3 separate regions of the Homo sapiens genome follow, and all the other regions are linked to region 1. Evidence: promoter capture Hi-C in 16 types of primary human blood cells and fetal thymus (Javierre and others, 2016). All regions are on one chromosome and are shown on one strand. Each heading gives the region's core, a stretch centred on a gene start or on the middle of the fragment in contact. The rest is flanking DNA. Distances are from core to core; before and after follow the strand shown. Region 1 holds the start of NME5 (NME/NM23 family member 5). Region 2 overlaps FAM13B-AS1 (FAM13B antisense RNA 1). Region 3 has its middle 23 kb from the start of FAM13B.

Region 1 (5,065 bases), core at 921-3,420:
CTGTCCTTTGAAGCTCAACTGAAATTCCGTATCTTTTCTGAAGATTGATATTTTCTCTTTATTTATTTATTTATTTTTTGAGACAGATCTCCCTCTATTGCCCAGGCTGGAGTACAATGGCGTAGTCTTGGCTTACTGCAACCTCTGCCTCCTGAGTTCAAGCGATTCTCCTGCCTCAGCTTCCCAAGTAGCTGGGACTACAGGTGCACGCCACCACGCCCAGCTAATTTTTGTATTTTTCATAGAGATGGGGTTTCACCACATTGGCCAGGCTGGTCTCAAACTCCTGACCTTATGATCCACCCATCTCGGCCTCCCAAAGTGCTGGGATTACAGGCGTGAGCCACCGTACCCGCCATTTTCTCTTTATTTTTAAAAATACTGACTGAATAAGCAATATGACACTGTATAAATGGGAGAAAATAAAAAATTGGAAGTTCGAATGAGAATACTGTAAAAGAGGCGGGGTGCAGTGGCTCACACCTGTAATCCCAGCACTTTGGGAGGCCGAGGCGGGTGGATCACGAGGTCAGGAGTTCAAGACCACCCTGGCCAACATGGTAAAACCCCGTCTCTACTAAAAATACAAACATTAGCTGGACATGGTGGTGCATGCCTGTAATCCCAGCTACTCAGGAGGCTGAGGCAGGAGAATTGCTTGAACCGGGACCTGGAAGGCAGAGGTTGCAGTGAGCCGAGATCGTACCACTGCACTCCAGTCTGGGCTACAGAGGGAGACTCTGTCTCAAAAAAAAGAAAAAAAAACTATAAAAGAGGAAGATTAAAAATATTCAATTCTATTTGATTTATCCTTAACAATGCTATTTATATTCACTTTCAAACCCCTAGAATGACAATGTTTACTAATTGCAGAACATAAGGCTTAAAACATTAAATGTTATGCCATAACTGAAAAAAGTACCAATAGCCTAAAATTCCATCAATAGAAGATCAAGTAAATAAATTGTAGTTCTAATACACAGGGAAATATTACACAGAAATTAGGAAGAGTGAGATCAATTCAGATGCAATGATCTGGAATCCTATCTGAGGGACTCTGTAAAGGGGTCAAGGGAAAGGGACTGTTCTGTTTTATGGGGGGAAAATGTTTATAAATGCATAGAAAACTCCTGGAAGAACAGAAAGTGTTAAGTGGTTGCCTCTCTCTGGAGCCTGGGACTTGGGGTAAAAGAGGACAGGTGAAGGAAAAGTCCATTTTATTTCTCATTTTACATCCTTTTAAAAACTATCACATATAACTTTTATACTTAGAAGAATAAACTTAAATTTAATGCTGAACACTAAGGGTTTAAATGGGTAGGCACATTTACATAAGCATTTTTTTTTTAAGGGCAGAGAGGAAAAAAGCATGAATCATCATACCCAGAAGTTACCTGAACAATGGTGAATCCGGATCTAAGAATAATATCTTGTATCTCCTCCTCTTTGTCAACAATATCTGGTTTGATAATGGCCAGAGTTTTTTCTACATATATCTGAGGTGGAGGCATTGATATCTCCATTATGGCTTTTCAGGGCACAAATTAAGAGTTTCTTAACAGGTATCAACTGCAATGACATGCATTTCCCCCCACCCCCATCGCAAATTCAATGTAATTATGATTAAGAATAGCAATAGTAGGTACTTGATTTTATTAACTGATGAAGGTAGAAACTGCCATGTTTTTCTATATACAGGGTCTCAATAATAGGATTCCTACTATGTCCAAATCGAGCCCCGGCTTTTCGTATACGATGTCACCAAGGCAGGAAGGACTATGGGCTCACATAACCAGAGGCCAAGGGGCGACCCGAAGGCCTGGAACCAGCAACAGCCCCAGGCAGCAGAGGGCGGTGGGGCGGGTGGTGGGGGCTCGAGGGGGCGGTAGAGCGGGTGGTGGGGGCTCGAGGGGACGGTGGCTGGTGGGCAACCACACACCATTACAGCGGCGGGTGAGCGGCCTCGGCCAGCTGCCTCTGTGAAGCGACCCTGTCCCGCAGGGACCTCTCTGTGCATAGGGTCAGGCTAATTGAAAAGCAGGGCCTCTAGGTCCGCGGGGACTTTCCGGGTTGCACCTGCAAATTCTGAATTTGACCCTCTCTAAGTACTCACCTCAGCGGCCGTCCTCATATGGTACAACTTGTTGCTAGGAGACCTGAAGCCCCAGCGTGGGGACGGTGGCTGCAGAGAGCCAATCCCAGCAAGGAACCTTGCAGCTTCTGGCCAGTTCGTTTTAACCAAAGGGAGCCAGCCAGTCACTTTTATTCTCCTTGTGAATCTTAGAGCACTAGATGTTTTCTGACATTTTACTCATAATTTATCTTATTTCATCCTTCTTCCCGTTTGAAGGATGCTTCAATTATCCCTACTCTATAAATGATAAGAACCCCTCCCCCAACCATTCCTTTCCAGGCGGTATATGTAAATGACCCGTGTCAGATACCTTCGTTTCACCAGATGATGCTGTGCCCTCTATGCCCAGCTTATCTAGTCATTAAAAAGCAATATTCCTATTGTGTAAATACATTTATTTATAGAGTAAAAGGCTTAGAAAAGATCTAATGGAATTGTCTTTAAATCAAGCCGATGGAACAAAGATGTGGGCAACATTTATGGCATAAATCCAAACCTCAGCTTCCCCTTTTTTTCTTTATATTATGTCCACATGCATCTTTGACTCGTTGGTTGTGAGTTAAGGTATTATTCTTGTTGGAAAAGAAAATGAGGACATGGCAAAGAAGTACCAGGATCCTCTCTAGGTCAGAGTTCCGGGAGAGATTCAAACTCTAGAAAAAGTCAGGATAGCAGCTCCAGGTTAGAAAACAGGTTTTCCATCATCCACTGGGTTAGCTGGTTCTCCTTCCAGACTACTTGAGCCTTTTCTTTTGTCTAACCAGATATTCAGTACCTAAAGGGTTAAGGAACACATAGCAAGCTATTATGAACCTTAAACACTAAAGTATTGCAAGTTTATTTTTTTGGCAAATAGACTCAACTATACTTTTTTCTTTAAAGTATGATGCTACCCAGAAAAGAAACCCACAAATGTCTTCTAGCTACTATATCTTATCCCCTAAAGATGGGAAAGTGTGAACGTACATTAATAACAACAGATGAAGCAACCAAAAAATACACAGTGACTCCAGCCTCTTTGGAGTTTAGCCCTTGACTTGAGGCTCTGGAAGCGGGAATTCCCATTACTTGTCTATCCTCAGCTCTCTTGAGAGCTCTTCACTGCTGCCTGCATTCCTAGACTACTTCACTATCAGAGCTGGACTTACTGAGGCTCAGGGTTTTCCAAACCAGCAGGCACATTATCAATCCTTCAGGGCCTTAATCACCTTTAAAAATAAACTCTGAGAACACAGTCACCTCGAAATCACCTTTATTCTCATAGGCGTTCTGAAATCAAGATTCCAGAGGCTACAGGTATCTGCATACAGTACCTGAATCTGCTCCAGGACTTCTTGCCGCATCTCCACAGCCATATGGTATACATGATGATCAGAGTCATTGTACATTACAGCATTTTGGAACATCAGCATCAGGTCTCGCAGGAATTGGGCCATGGTGCGAATCCGACCCTTAGAGAGATTTCTCTTCAGGCTAGTTAAGTCCATGGGTCTGCAGGTGGCCAAGAAAAAACAAAGAAAATCAAACCTTCATGTGGAACATATGATAACCTAACACGTTCTCTTGAAGAACTAACCAGTTCTTAATGAAAACAGTAGCAAAGATAACAACCCTCATCAGATAATAAAATAGCAACAGCAGTTAATATTTGCCTGTTTACAATGGGCCAAACACTGTATTTCTATACTAACTCACTTAATCCTCTCAATAAACCTGTAAGGTAGGTATCATTAATATCTCATTTTTTTTTTTTTTGAGTCGGAGTTTCACTCTTGTTGCCCAGGCCGGAGTGCAATGGAGCAATCTCAGCTCACTGCAACTTCCACCTTCCAGGTTCAAGCAATTCCCCTGTCTCAGCCTCCAGAATAGCTGGGATTACAGGCGTGCGCCATCATGCCCAGCTAATTTTTGTATTTTTAGTAGAGATAGGGTTTCACCATGTTGGTCAGGCTAGTCTCGAACTCCTAGCCTCAGGGGATCCACCTTCCTTGGCCTCCCAAAGTACTGGGATTACAAGTGTGAGCCACCGCCCCCGGCCTTATTATCTCCATTTCACAGATGAAGAAATTGAAATCTAAAGAGGTTAAGTACTCACTGAAAGGCACACAGCCTGAATTCCAATTCAGAGGCAGCCTGACTCCAGAGCCCACAGGTCAAGCCACTATATTCTACTATCAGAGGAGGAGTGCTGGCCCCAGGTATCAAAGTTGTAAAGAGCACCAATCATCAGTTTATCACACAGTAGTTATTTGCTGTTTACAATGTATAGTCATATATTATTTCATCTACTTCTCTTACTGCACAAATAAAAAGCTAAGAATAATTTTTTTCTCCTTTCATGGAGATGAAAAAAGGATCAAGTGAATATTAAGACAATATTAATGAGACACAGAAAGTAGATATATAAGAGAAGGCACAGCAGTGTAGAAAGAAGACTGAACTGCAGGTAAGAATCTGGGGCTTAGTTCTAGCTCTGCTATTAACTGTTGGTTGATCACGAGCAAGTCATGACCAAGCACCTCTGAGCTTTAGTTTCCTCATTCCTAAAGAAGTTTGTCTCTGCTGTTTGAATGATGGTATCATTGTCTCTGCTGTTTGAATGATGGTATCCCCTCCAAAATTCATGTTGAAACTTAATCCCAAGTGCAACAGTATTAAGAGGTGGAGCCTTTGGGAGGTAATTAATTCATGAGTGCTCTGCCTTCATGAATGGGATTAGCATCCTTATAAAAGGGCTCCATATCGAAGAGAGTGCCCTCTTATCCTTCTGTCCCTTCTGCCATGTGAGGATACAGCATTCGTCCCCTCTGCAGAATACAACAACAAGGCATCATCTTAGAAGCAGAAGCAGAGAGTAACCCACCTCACACACCAAAACTACCAATGCCTTGATCTTGCACTTCCCAGCCTCCAGAACCAAAACAAAGAAAC
Region 2 (5,065 bases), core at 1,406-3,905, 100 kb before region 1:
AGGAACGAGGCAACTGATTCTAATGACCAGAACCAACACTTACTCTCAGGGCAGTTAAATCTTAATTCAGATTCACTCACTCATTCAACAGATACTTAGTGAATGCTTACTATGTTCTAGTCTCTTAAGATACGTCAGTAAATCCCTGCCTTCGTGGAGTTTATATCCTAGCAAACCTAAATTCTGGATCTCCGTTAAGAGCATACAAAGGCCCATACTCTGATTCCAAACTCAGCTAGTAGCCTTTCCATCATTCAGGGAGTCTCTCAAATAAATCTACATACCCAATAAGAAGGGATTGTCCAAGGCATATAACTAGGACTAGTTATACTAGCTGTACAGTTTTTGTCAATAAATTCATATCATGGTTTACAAATCGGACACTGTTCACTGGGTTGAATTGTTTTATCCGAATTAATTTCTCAGAGCCTATTTAAACTTGAGCGAAGTGAAATAAAAGTTTCCAAATCTGCCAAACAGGATCAACAGAGCCTGATTTCAGAGCAGCCCAGTGAAGATGCAGTCTGTGCATTTAGCCTTGTATCTCTCTTTAAATATCTTAAATGAAAGCTTTACCTGTGATTCCATGCTTGGAGAACAGGAGCAATATGATTGCTTCAAAAGCTTTATCATAAGTGCGTAAAAGTCTTGAGAGTAAATCCGAAGAGAGTTAAAAACCTCCTCCGCCTGCCCCACATATGCAACACAGGCTCTTGTTGACATAACTGACTGTAATAAATACTTTGCTCTGAATATGAAACCTAAGATGTAAGCTCCCAGAGGGAAGGATTCCCTTGCCTTTTTTTTTTTTTTTTTTTTTTTTTTTTTTTTGGTGAGACAAGGTCTTGCTCTGTCACTCAGGCTGGGGTCCAGTGTCTGGATTATGGCTCAATACAGCCTCAACTTCCTGGCCTCCAGCAGCATTCCTACCCTAGTCTCCTGAGTAGCTGGGACTACAGGGACATGCCACCATGCCTGGCTAATTTTAAAATTTTTTTAGAGATGGGTTTCCCTATGTTGCCCAGGCCTCTCTTGAACTCCTGGCCTCAAGTGATCCTCCCACCTCAGCCTCCCAAAGTGCTGTGATTACAGGCGTGAGCCACCGTGCCCGGCCTCCCTTGCGTTTTTATACCCTACCCACAAAGTATGGGATCTCAAAAAACAAATGAATTGATCAATGACCATTTTCCCCCTCAAAAACTGCAGAACATATTCTTGGAAGATATATTCTCTAGATCCTACTTGATAATATAAAAACAGTATGTTCAACATAGGGGCCACATGGGCTATAATTCAAAACAAACACTTTTATTTTGTATCTTTTGCCATGCCTTTCAATTTGTGCAGTGGGAGTAGATCTGTCATGTACCTAATTGAAAACTCAGGCAGGTTCCATGAGTTTTTAGGGGTTCTGTGGTCTCCTTAGGAATAGAGTCCTGTTGTCATTGAGTCACAAAGAGTGAAATGTTTTCCTCTTTTTCAGCTGGGAACAGTTGTCTCATTGCTTGCCCTAAAGAGGGGACCATAGTCATCTTTAACCTGCCTAGTCTTTCTCCTCCCGGCTTAACTAATCATAACCAAATCTGGGGAAGGCAGGGAGAAAAAGGAGCAGGAAAGTTGTTAACTTTGTATGATGGTTTGACATTCCCTGGGCATGGTAGATGCTTAAAGCTGACTTATTTTTTCATGGATACCTCAGAGACTACCACCATCCCCCTTCTCTGGTGGTTTCTCCCCCATAATTCTATTGGTCTAAGCGTAAAGCTATTTTGGCAGTTATTTACTTCTTTCCACGCACCTCCAACTACTTGTCTGTTGAAACCTGGGCATCTCTGTAAAGGCCCTGTCAGATAGGATCTGAGATGACTCTCACACTCGTCCATTTGCAAGTGACCCTTTATTGTGGGACAAGGTTGTGCACTCCGTACCCTAGGGGGTGCCATTCACATCATTCTCACTGTAGTTCTGTATGTTATTTATTTTAATGTTTTTCCAGCAGGTGGCAGTAAAGTGTTTTGTCCAAACTAAATTACAACGACTGCTTCCCAATAGATGGAAGCAAAGCGTCTGGACGAAGGAGAGCTTTTTTCTCATGGTGCTGCTGTGTTAGCCTAGTGACAGCTCTGTATGGCCCACACCTGGTCCACAGGAAGCTCTCAGGCACCTCTTGCCCGAACAAACTTGGGAGTACAGGCTAATCCCAGTGCAGATTCAACATTCCTCTACTCTGCTGCCAAAACAGCCGCCAGCCTGTGGGAGTCAGACACAGGCCCACGGTGCCCCTCAGACTGCAGGAGGTACAAGTCAAGTGCTCTGAGCAGATCCATTGAAGGCCCACTCCCTCGACTTGAAGTAAAAGGCAGGCAGGCACCTGTGGTAAGAATCACAGCTCACCAGCAACAGTCTCCAAAGACATTGTCCTCAATAATTCTGGTTTGGCCTTTTATAACTAAATAACTGAGTATTTAATCTACCTGCTTTGTCTAAATCCTCTGAAATTTCTAGAGGGGGTCTATCTCAGAAATTACTTTAGTTTTTTGGTGGATGGAGGGAAGAAGATGGTTTCTTTTATAATAATCTTGTTGCTTCAGTTAAAACAGTGGTTCTCAACTGCGACAATTTTGGGGGACCATGTGTGCAGACATTTTTGGTTTTTTTTTAAACTTTTTTTTTCCTTCTGAATTCAGGATCTGCTGAATACAGACATTTTTGATTGTCACCACTGGAGAGGTGCTATTGGCTGGTGGGAGAAGGTCAAGGATGCTGGTAAACATCCTTTACGGCACAGGACAGCCCCTACAGCAAAGAACAGCAATTCTGTTTGTTACAGAGATGAGAGAATACCTCACTAAAAGAATACTTCAAAATTACATCACTTTTTCTTCTTTTTTTCCTACAAATTCTTTACCTGTAGATGGAAACGTCACATTTCAATATATCAATAGAGTCAAAAATAGCATTTGCAATAGCTATTTGGCCAGGATGAGAAGTGACTGGTATAGACCAATCCTTTGTGTTTCCAAGACTCCTTCTGGAGATGAGGCCATGCCAGGAAAATTACTACTTGAGATAAAATTGTTATTTATTTGCAAGATGACTTTTAAGCCTGGAAAACAAGCATTCTATCCCAGCTTATCTGAACAGAGGCATTATGCCTCTCAGAAGTAAGGTCATGAGTCACATCACTGTGGAAGGAATATATCTTTGCTACAACCTGGACTGCATTCTAGATGCCAGGGAGGACCTCAGCATATCTGCCTCCCCAAGGTCACCAGTGTCACTGGAATGAGACTTGAAGTCAGGAAGTAGCTGTCTCTGCAGTTACTTTACAGATGGCTAATAATGCCCTCATTATTCACAGAGAATGCAAATGGGTTCTTCCATCCTTTACATGAGTTTGACTGAATTCATCTCTTCCAGATGTAGCAGGATGTTGAGCCCTTCCCTTGCACCATCAGTAAGGAAACTTTTAATCAGGTGTTTTCCTTACCGTTACTGATCTCCCTGAGCAAGGCTGTTTGAGTACTGGGATATAGATTAACTTGAGTTCAGTCAAGGCTGCCTTGTCTTTCTTAATACGATGTTAATAAGAAACGAGCCACCCTAGCCAGAAAAGCCAAAAAGATATATTCTATCCCCACCAATTCTATCACTTAAAAGTAAAATAGATAAAACAAACATTCCAAGTTCCAGTTCTAGCCCTGTTACTAGCCTTTTGACTCTGGTCAAGTTACTTAACTTAGTTGTACCTTAGATTCCCCATTAGTCAAATAGGGAAACAGACTTAAATGAATTGGTATGCATAAAAGTGCTTTATTAGCCATATACAATTTTTTCAGTTCCCTCTCCTATACTGCATTCAGAGGCCTAGAGAACAACCTGAAAATGTCTTGCTTTCATATCTGGATTTATTGCCAGGAATGAGGCCCAGTGTGAACACCTTTCTTGACAGAAATTGCCAAATCTTTGTCTATCTATTTGTAAATGAAAACCAAGAACCACTAAGAATTCCCCCAAACTCTCGGTGCTGGTTTTAAGATCTTCTGAGCCTTGTAAGTTACAGTAAATACAAGCACATCTCTTCCCCAATTAGAAGCATATTTACACTGCCCATTTGTAGAACAAGACATGACTGTAAATACAGATAGGAAGCCATCATTACATGCAGTCTTGTGTGCAGGGAAAAACAAGTGCATATGGAGATGAGATTGTGACTACTCTTGATTCTCACAGAGCAGTAAAATGCTATCAAATTCAGTCAAACTCAGCTAATGAATTTTCTCCTTGAGGTAGTCTCCTCTACTGGGAAGAAAGGAAGAACTAAAAACACATCAAATTTAAATCCTCTGGTAAAAGAGAAGCAACTCACCATTAGAGAGATGTATTGCTGGCTCTTCCAAGAAATGGAGTGGAAATCTTTCTGTGCCACTTTGCCCAGGACCATTGTGCCAGTGTGCAAGAATGTGTGTTTTTCATAAACAGAAAAATATCACTAGCTGCAAAGAGAAGAAACTGTTCCAGGGTGTACAAATCCCACGCCAACCTCCAAAATAATGGCAAATACTGTTCTGATCTTAGCAACCCAGAATAACCTTTGTGCCATTTATTTATTCAACACATATTTCTTGGGCAGCTATTATGGGTCAGGCACTGTGCTAGGCGATATGATCATGATCTCTGCCCTGGAAAAGCTTCATCTTACATATCTCTGGAATAAAATATTTTGGTGGAATAGAACCAAAGTTAACATAATGTGGATTTCAGCTTCTATATTCACTCATATAGCCACTGGTGCCAGTCACATCCAGTTTGGAGAGCTGGAACAATTAACAGTAAGTCTCATCTTTGCCAAGTCCACATATTTGGCCTGATAACTCAGAATTCAGTGTATGACAATAATGTAGGCCAATACTATCATCAGCTATAAGACTAATTTGTTTTGGTTTCTTTATTAAATTCCTATAATCAGCTAGATATTTTTTCCACAATCAGAACTTTTATTGTTGAAAATAAATAAATAACAAAGAATAAATATCCCTTTCTCTTCTTCCCTCTGCCTGTATCC
Region 3 (5,065 bases), core at 824-3,323, 84 kb before region 1:
AGCTGACAAAGCACTTTCTCAAATGTATTAACTGATCATCCTGTAAACACATATTATGATTCCACGTTGATGTGGGAGCCTCCTACTTTTTGCTATGCCCTTTCTTCCTGGTCTTTCTTGTTTTCTGTGATAAATCTGTTCTAGGGAGGGTCAGATCCCTGTCAGTTGGGGGTGGGAGGGGTAGAGCGAGACCAGGATGGAAAGAAGACCTTTATCCTGTGGGTGGAGACCTGAATGGGGTTAGTTTCAGGATATCTCAGACAATATCATCAGAATCTTAAATGCCGTAGCCAACCTTTTAAACACTTAGAGTGAGCCTTTCACTTACAGATTCTTCCTTTGAATTCAGGGTGATTTTTTTTATTTTTAGACAGCTAAACTGGGTCACAGAAAAAGAGCTCCTTTCCCAGAATTACACAGAAAAATAGCATAAAATGTTATTCCCTTCGACTCCCAGAATCTCCTTCTGTGAAGTTCAACCATGAAAAGCAGGACTGATGCTTCCAGCTAAATTTTGTTTCAAATTGGTTTGATCATCTACTCTACAGAGCAACCCAGGCAGCCCATTCACCTCTGCAATGCTGTCTCCCTCAGCTCTCAGAGCCCACAGAATCTGTTCTGCTTCAGTTCTCTCTTAGAAGCCTCTACTAATTTTCCCCCACGTGGTTGTAAAGTCCTATTCATGTGTACAATGTCCACTTCTTCTTTATAAGTCAGACCTGAAAAACTTCAGAGAGTTCAACCATACTGAATATACCCTGTTGCTTCTTTGTTGTCTAATTCTCAAACGTGTAAAAAGAAGCATGAGTTTACGGCCAAAAATCAGGCTGGTTGTCAGAGACAAGCACTTGTCTATTATCCCCACTTCATCCACAATTACTTCATCCTCCCAGCCTCAGTTTCCCTGTTTACACACAGCCTAGAATCTGGTGCTTTCTCCCTCCTTGCCAGGAAGTTGATACAGATCTTGATGTAAAAGCAGGGCAAAAAGAGAGAGAGAAAAAAAAGCAGGGCCGAGGGCTCTCCAAGTTCTTTCAGAGACATAGTAAACAGTTGTTTGCTTGTCAAAGGACCTATATGGGCCACTACAGTGCAGACAACACAATTTCCCACAATGGAGGTAAGCAAAATAAAAGACCATGGACAGAGGAAAGATGACTGGAAGGAAGCCCCAGTTTTCCTTATCACCCCTCAAGCTTTGTAGGGGAGGTATAGAGGCAGTCAGCCTGACTCACAGCCAGCGCTACTGCTCCCCGGCCAAAGAGGGTTCAGAAGCGAAGGGCTGCTGGATTCAAAGGTCCTAGGCTGACAAACGTAATGGGATGTATTCATCCGAGGACTGGCAGGCTTTCCTTTCAGCTCCGGCTCCTCAGGGTATAAGTCAACTTCCTCTCACTCGTTCTCATTCCTGAGAACCCTGGGAGCTGACAGACGAATGGGGATAAGGGCCAGACTAGGAGATGCCCTTACAGCCCCAGGTAGAAGAACTGGTTCAAGATGCAGGACATCTGAGAAGAGGAAACAGATTTCCCCCCGTGGCTCCAAGCATTTCTGTAAGCACCACCTGTACCTGTCACGAGGAAAAAGCTCCTATTAGCCCTAAAACTAGCCCTCTCCACTTCCCAGCCTCTGAGAGAACGCCAAGTAATGAGAAGGGAAACCAATGAAACATGGGCTGAAAGCATTACCTCATCAGAGTGAACCCCCATTGGCTGCAATGACTCTGGACGAGGCTTGCACGCTAGTAAATTAACCCTTGTCAGGAACATAGACCTCCATGTGGGACCCCTTCCCTCCCCTACTGCTCCTTGTTTTCAAATTAGGAAAAGGGGTAGATGGGGAACAATAGACCTTTCCCTAACATTTTTCTTAGGCATAGGTAGCTATACAATGGTTATGAGGAAGTTTGTATCTCCTCTCCCCAAAATTGTTCAGTGCCTTTTGAACCAAAATGGAGCCACCTGCAACAGACTGATAAATATGGGTTACGTAGGAAGAGGCAGAGTGAATTATCAGTCGTTTTCTAAACCTACCTACCATGGAATTGTCAGAGGGGCAAAGACCAAAAAGAATAATAAAAATTAAAACACCTTGGGAAAGATTGGCAATAAATTGATCTTGTTTTTTGCAACTTATTTTTTAAGGTTATCCTCATAGGTACAGCCTCTATTTTTAATGCAAACTGCCAAAAGATATGCTAATTTTTTAAAAAAGGCAAATAGCAGACAAAAGTTTGAATTTATTACTTGAATTGCTTCATGAATAAAGTGTTCAATAAACCTGTCTTCCTACTATCAAAACTCTGTATTTGACAGAACCAAGACAAAAGATTGTTGTATGCTTCAAAAACTATGCGGCAGGCATGGTGGCTTACACCTGTAATCCCAACACTTTGGGAGTCCAGGACTGGAAGATCGCTTGAACTCAGGAGTTCGAGACCAGCCTGGGCAACATGGCAAAACTCTGTCTCTACAAAAAATACAAAACAATTCGCTGTGTGTGGTGGCACACACCTGTAGTCCCAGCTACCCGGGAGGCTGAGGTAGGAGGATCACCTGAGGCCAGGAAATTGAGGCTACAGTGAGCTGTGACTGCCCCACTGCACTCCAACCTGGGTGACAGAGTGAGACCCTTTCTATTAAAAAAAAAAAAAATTGCACTTGGTGACTAAAGTCAAGGGAGAGAAGACATCTAAGACTGACTTGATTCCCTCAAGTAAAAGTTATTAGCTCTGAGCTAAGAGCTAATTTGCAAACAAGGCGTGAAGATAACTGTAGTTGTGAATACTGAGAGCTGAGTATTTGAGAAAGAGGTCCTATGCCCATACTATAGGCAGAGGCTTTCTGGGAACATTATTATGTCTTTTATTCTAAATTGATTTAAACTTAAAATTGACCAAAATATTGTGGGGTGGTGGGGGTTGTGGTTTGTTGTTGGTGGTGATTTTTTAAAAGCTTAAAAGCACCGTTGTTTTTTTTTTTTTTGAAATGGAGTTTTGCTCTTGTTGATCAGGGTGGAGTGCAATGGCACAACCTCAGCTCACTGCAACCACCACTTCCTAGGTTCAATAGATTCTCCTGCCTCAGCCTCCCAAGTAGCTGGAATTACAGGCGCCCACCACCACACCCGGCTATTTTTTTGTATTTTTATAGTAGACATGGGGTTTCACCATGTTGGCCAGGCTGGTCTCAAACTCCTGACCAAAGATTTGTTTGTTTTTTTTTTTGAGATGGAGTCTCGCTCTGTCGCCCAGGCTGGAGTGCAGTGGCATGATCTCGGCTCACTGCAAGCTCTGCCTCCCAGCTTCACGCCATTCTCCTGCCTCAGCCTCCTGAGTAGCTGGGACTACAGGCGCCCACCACCATGCCCGGCTAATTTTTTTTGTATTCTTAGTAGAGACGGGGTTTCACCGTGTTAGCCAGGCTGGTCTCAATCTCCTGACCTTGTGATCCGCCCGCCTCTGCCTCCCAAAGTGCTGAGATTACAGGCGTAAGCCACCGCACCCGGCCTGTTTTGTTTTTTAGTGAAGTACAGTAAGTCCTCACTTAACATCAGTGATAGTTTCTTGGAAACTGTGACTTTAAGTGAAATGATGTATAACAAAACCAATTTTACCACAGGCTAATTGGTATAAACAAGAGTTAAGGCTGGGCACTTTGGCTCATGCCTGTAATCCCAACACTTTGGGAGGCTGAGGCTGTAAGATCACTTGAGCCCAGGAGTTGAAGACCAGCCTGGGCAACATAGTGAAACCCCAGCTCTACAAAAAATTAGCCAGGCATGATGGTGCACACCTATAGCACCAGCTACTTCAGAGGCTGAGGTGGGAGGATTGCTTGAGCCTGGGAGGTCAAGGCTGCAGTGAGCCATGATTGCGCTACTGCACTGAAGCCTGGGTGTAAGAGGAAGAACCTGTCTAAAAAAAAACAAAAAAGAGGTAAGTTCCTGTGGCATATTTCTTGTCACAAAAACATCACCAAACTTCGAAATAAAGACCAAAACACTTTTAATATAAAAAATTAAGATAGGCTGGGCATGGTGGCTCATGCCTGTAATCCCAGCACTTTGGGAGGCCAAGGCAGGTGGATCACTTGAGGTCAGGAGTTCAAGACCAGCCTGGCCAACATGGAGAAACCCCATCTCCACTAAAAATACAGAAATTAGCAGGGCGTGATGGTGCATGCCTGTAATCCCAGCTACTCGGGAGGCTGAGGCAGGAGAATGAGGCAGAGGTTGCAGTGAGCTGAGATCACTGCATTCCAGCCTGGGTGACTGAGAAAGACTCCATCTCAAAAAAAAAAAAAAAAGGAAGAAAAAGAAAATTTAAGATAGATATGAGCTCTACCTACATTTAAGAAAGACTCATCAAAACAAGTGAGATAATTATTACCCAGTTATTCCAGTTCAAGGTCTTGAGTAGCCAGAGCCTATCCTGGCAGCTCAGGGCACCAGGCAGGAACCAGCTCGGGACAGGATGCCATCCTGTTGCAGGGTACATTCACACACATGCTGATACTCACGCAGACTGGGTCTATGAACCTAACAGGCATGTCTTTGGGATGTAGGTAGAGACTGAGCACCTGGGGAAAACCCACACAGACATGGGGAGAATGAGCAGACTCCACACAGACAATGGCCCTGGCTGGGAACCAATATTTTTTTCCATGAACAGTAAAGGAAACATTGAAGGAAATGACATTCTGCGAGGACCTCCTATAGATTAAGACAATGACTGATTCACTTTTGCTACAGTGAAAGTCATACTCAAGTGGCCGGGCACAGTGGCTCACACCTGTAATCCCAGCGTTTTTGGAGGCCGAGGCGGGCAGATCACGAGGTCAGGAGTTCGAGACCAGCCTGATCAACATGGTGAAACCCTGTGTCTACTAAAAATACAAAAATTAGCCAGGCGTGGTGGTGTGCACCTGTAATCCCAGCTACTCAGGAGACTGAGGCAGGAGAATTGCTTGAACCTGGGAGGCGGAGCTTGCAGTGAGCTGAGATCATGTCACTGCACTCCAGCCTGGGCTATAGAGTGAGACTCCATCTCAAAAAAAAAAAAAAA

What was found. Contacts are between HindIII fragments. The CHiCAGO score rates a contact against its expected background, and 5 or more counts as called.
Region 2: a fragment that was not itself captured here is called in contact with the fragment with the promoter of NME5 in region 1 in 10 of 17 cell types (M2 macrophages, megakaryocytes, M1 macrophages and 7 more); the score reaches 10.1 in M2 macrophages.
Region 3: a fragment that was not itself captured here is called in contact with the fragment with the promoter of NME5 in region 1 in 2 of 17 cell types (erythroblasts and M1 macrophages); the score reaches 5.5 in erythroblasts.

Annotation. Positions count from the first base shown.
Region 1 is chr5:138,137,258-138,142,322 of GRCh38, forward strand. It overlaps NME5 (NME/NM23 family member 5), which reads right to left and starts at 2,171. Exons shown (of 6, transcript NM_003551.3): 1 at 2,114-2,171; 2 at 1,395-1,528. The coding sequence starts at 1,523. BRD8 (bromodomain containing 8) reads right to left here. Exons shown (of 27, transcript NM_139199.2): 26 at 3,448-3,625; 27 at 2,513-2,909. The coding sequence ends at 2,817. The HindIII fragment of the contact is 15,003 bases long and covers 1-5,065 here.
Region 2 is chr5:138,034,197-138,039,261 of GRCh38, forward strand. It overlaps FAM13B-AS1 (FAM13B antisense RNA 1), which reads left to right. Exons shown (of 2, transcript NR_037900.2): 2 at 1,997-4,737. It overlaps LOC124901077 (a long non-coding RNA gene), which reads left to right. Exons shown (of 2, transcript XR_007058952.1): 2 at 1-477. It also overlaps a transcript of FAM13B not described here. Among named protein-coding and RNA genes, the nearest start is that of FAM13B, 3.6 kb to the left of the region's middle. RefSeq lists an enhancer at 2,063-2,272. The HindIII fragment of the contact is 4,067 bases long and covers 623-4,689 here.
Region 3 is chr5:138,053,755-138,058,819 of GRCh38, forward strand. No RefSeq gene overlaps it. Among named protein-coding and RNA genes, the nearest start is that of FAM13B, 23 kb to the left of the region's middle. The HindIII fragment of the contact is 1,758 bases long and covers 1,195-2,952 here.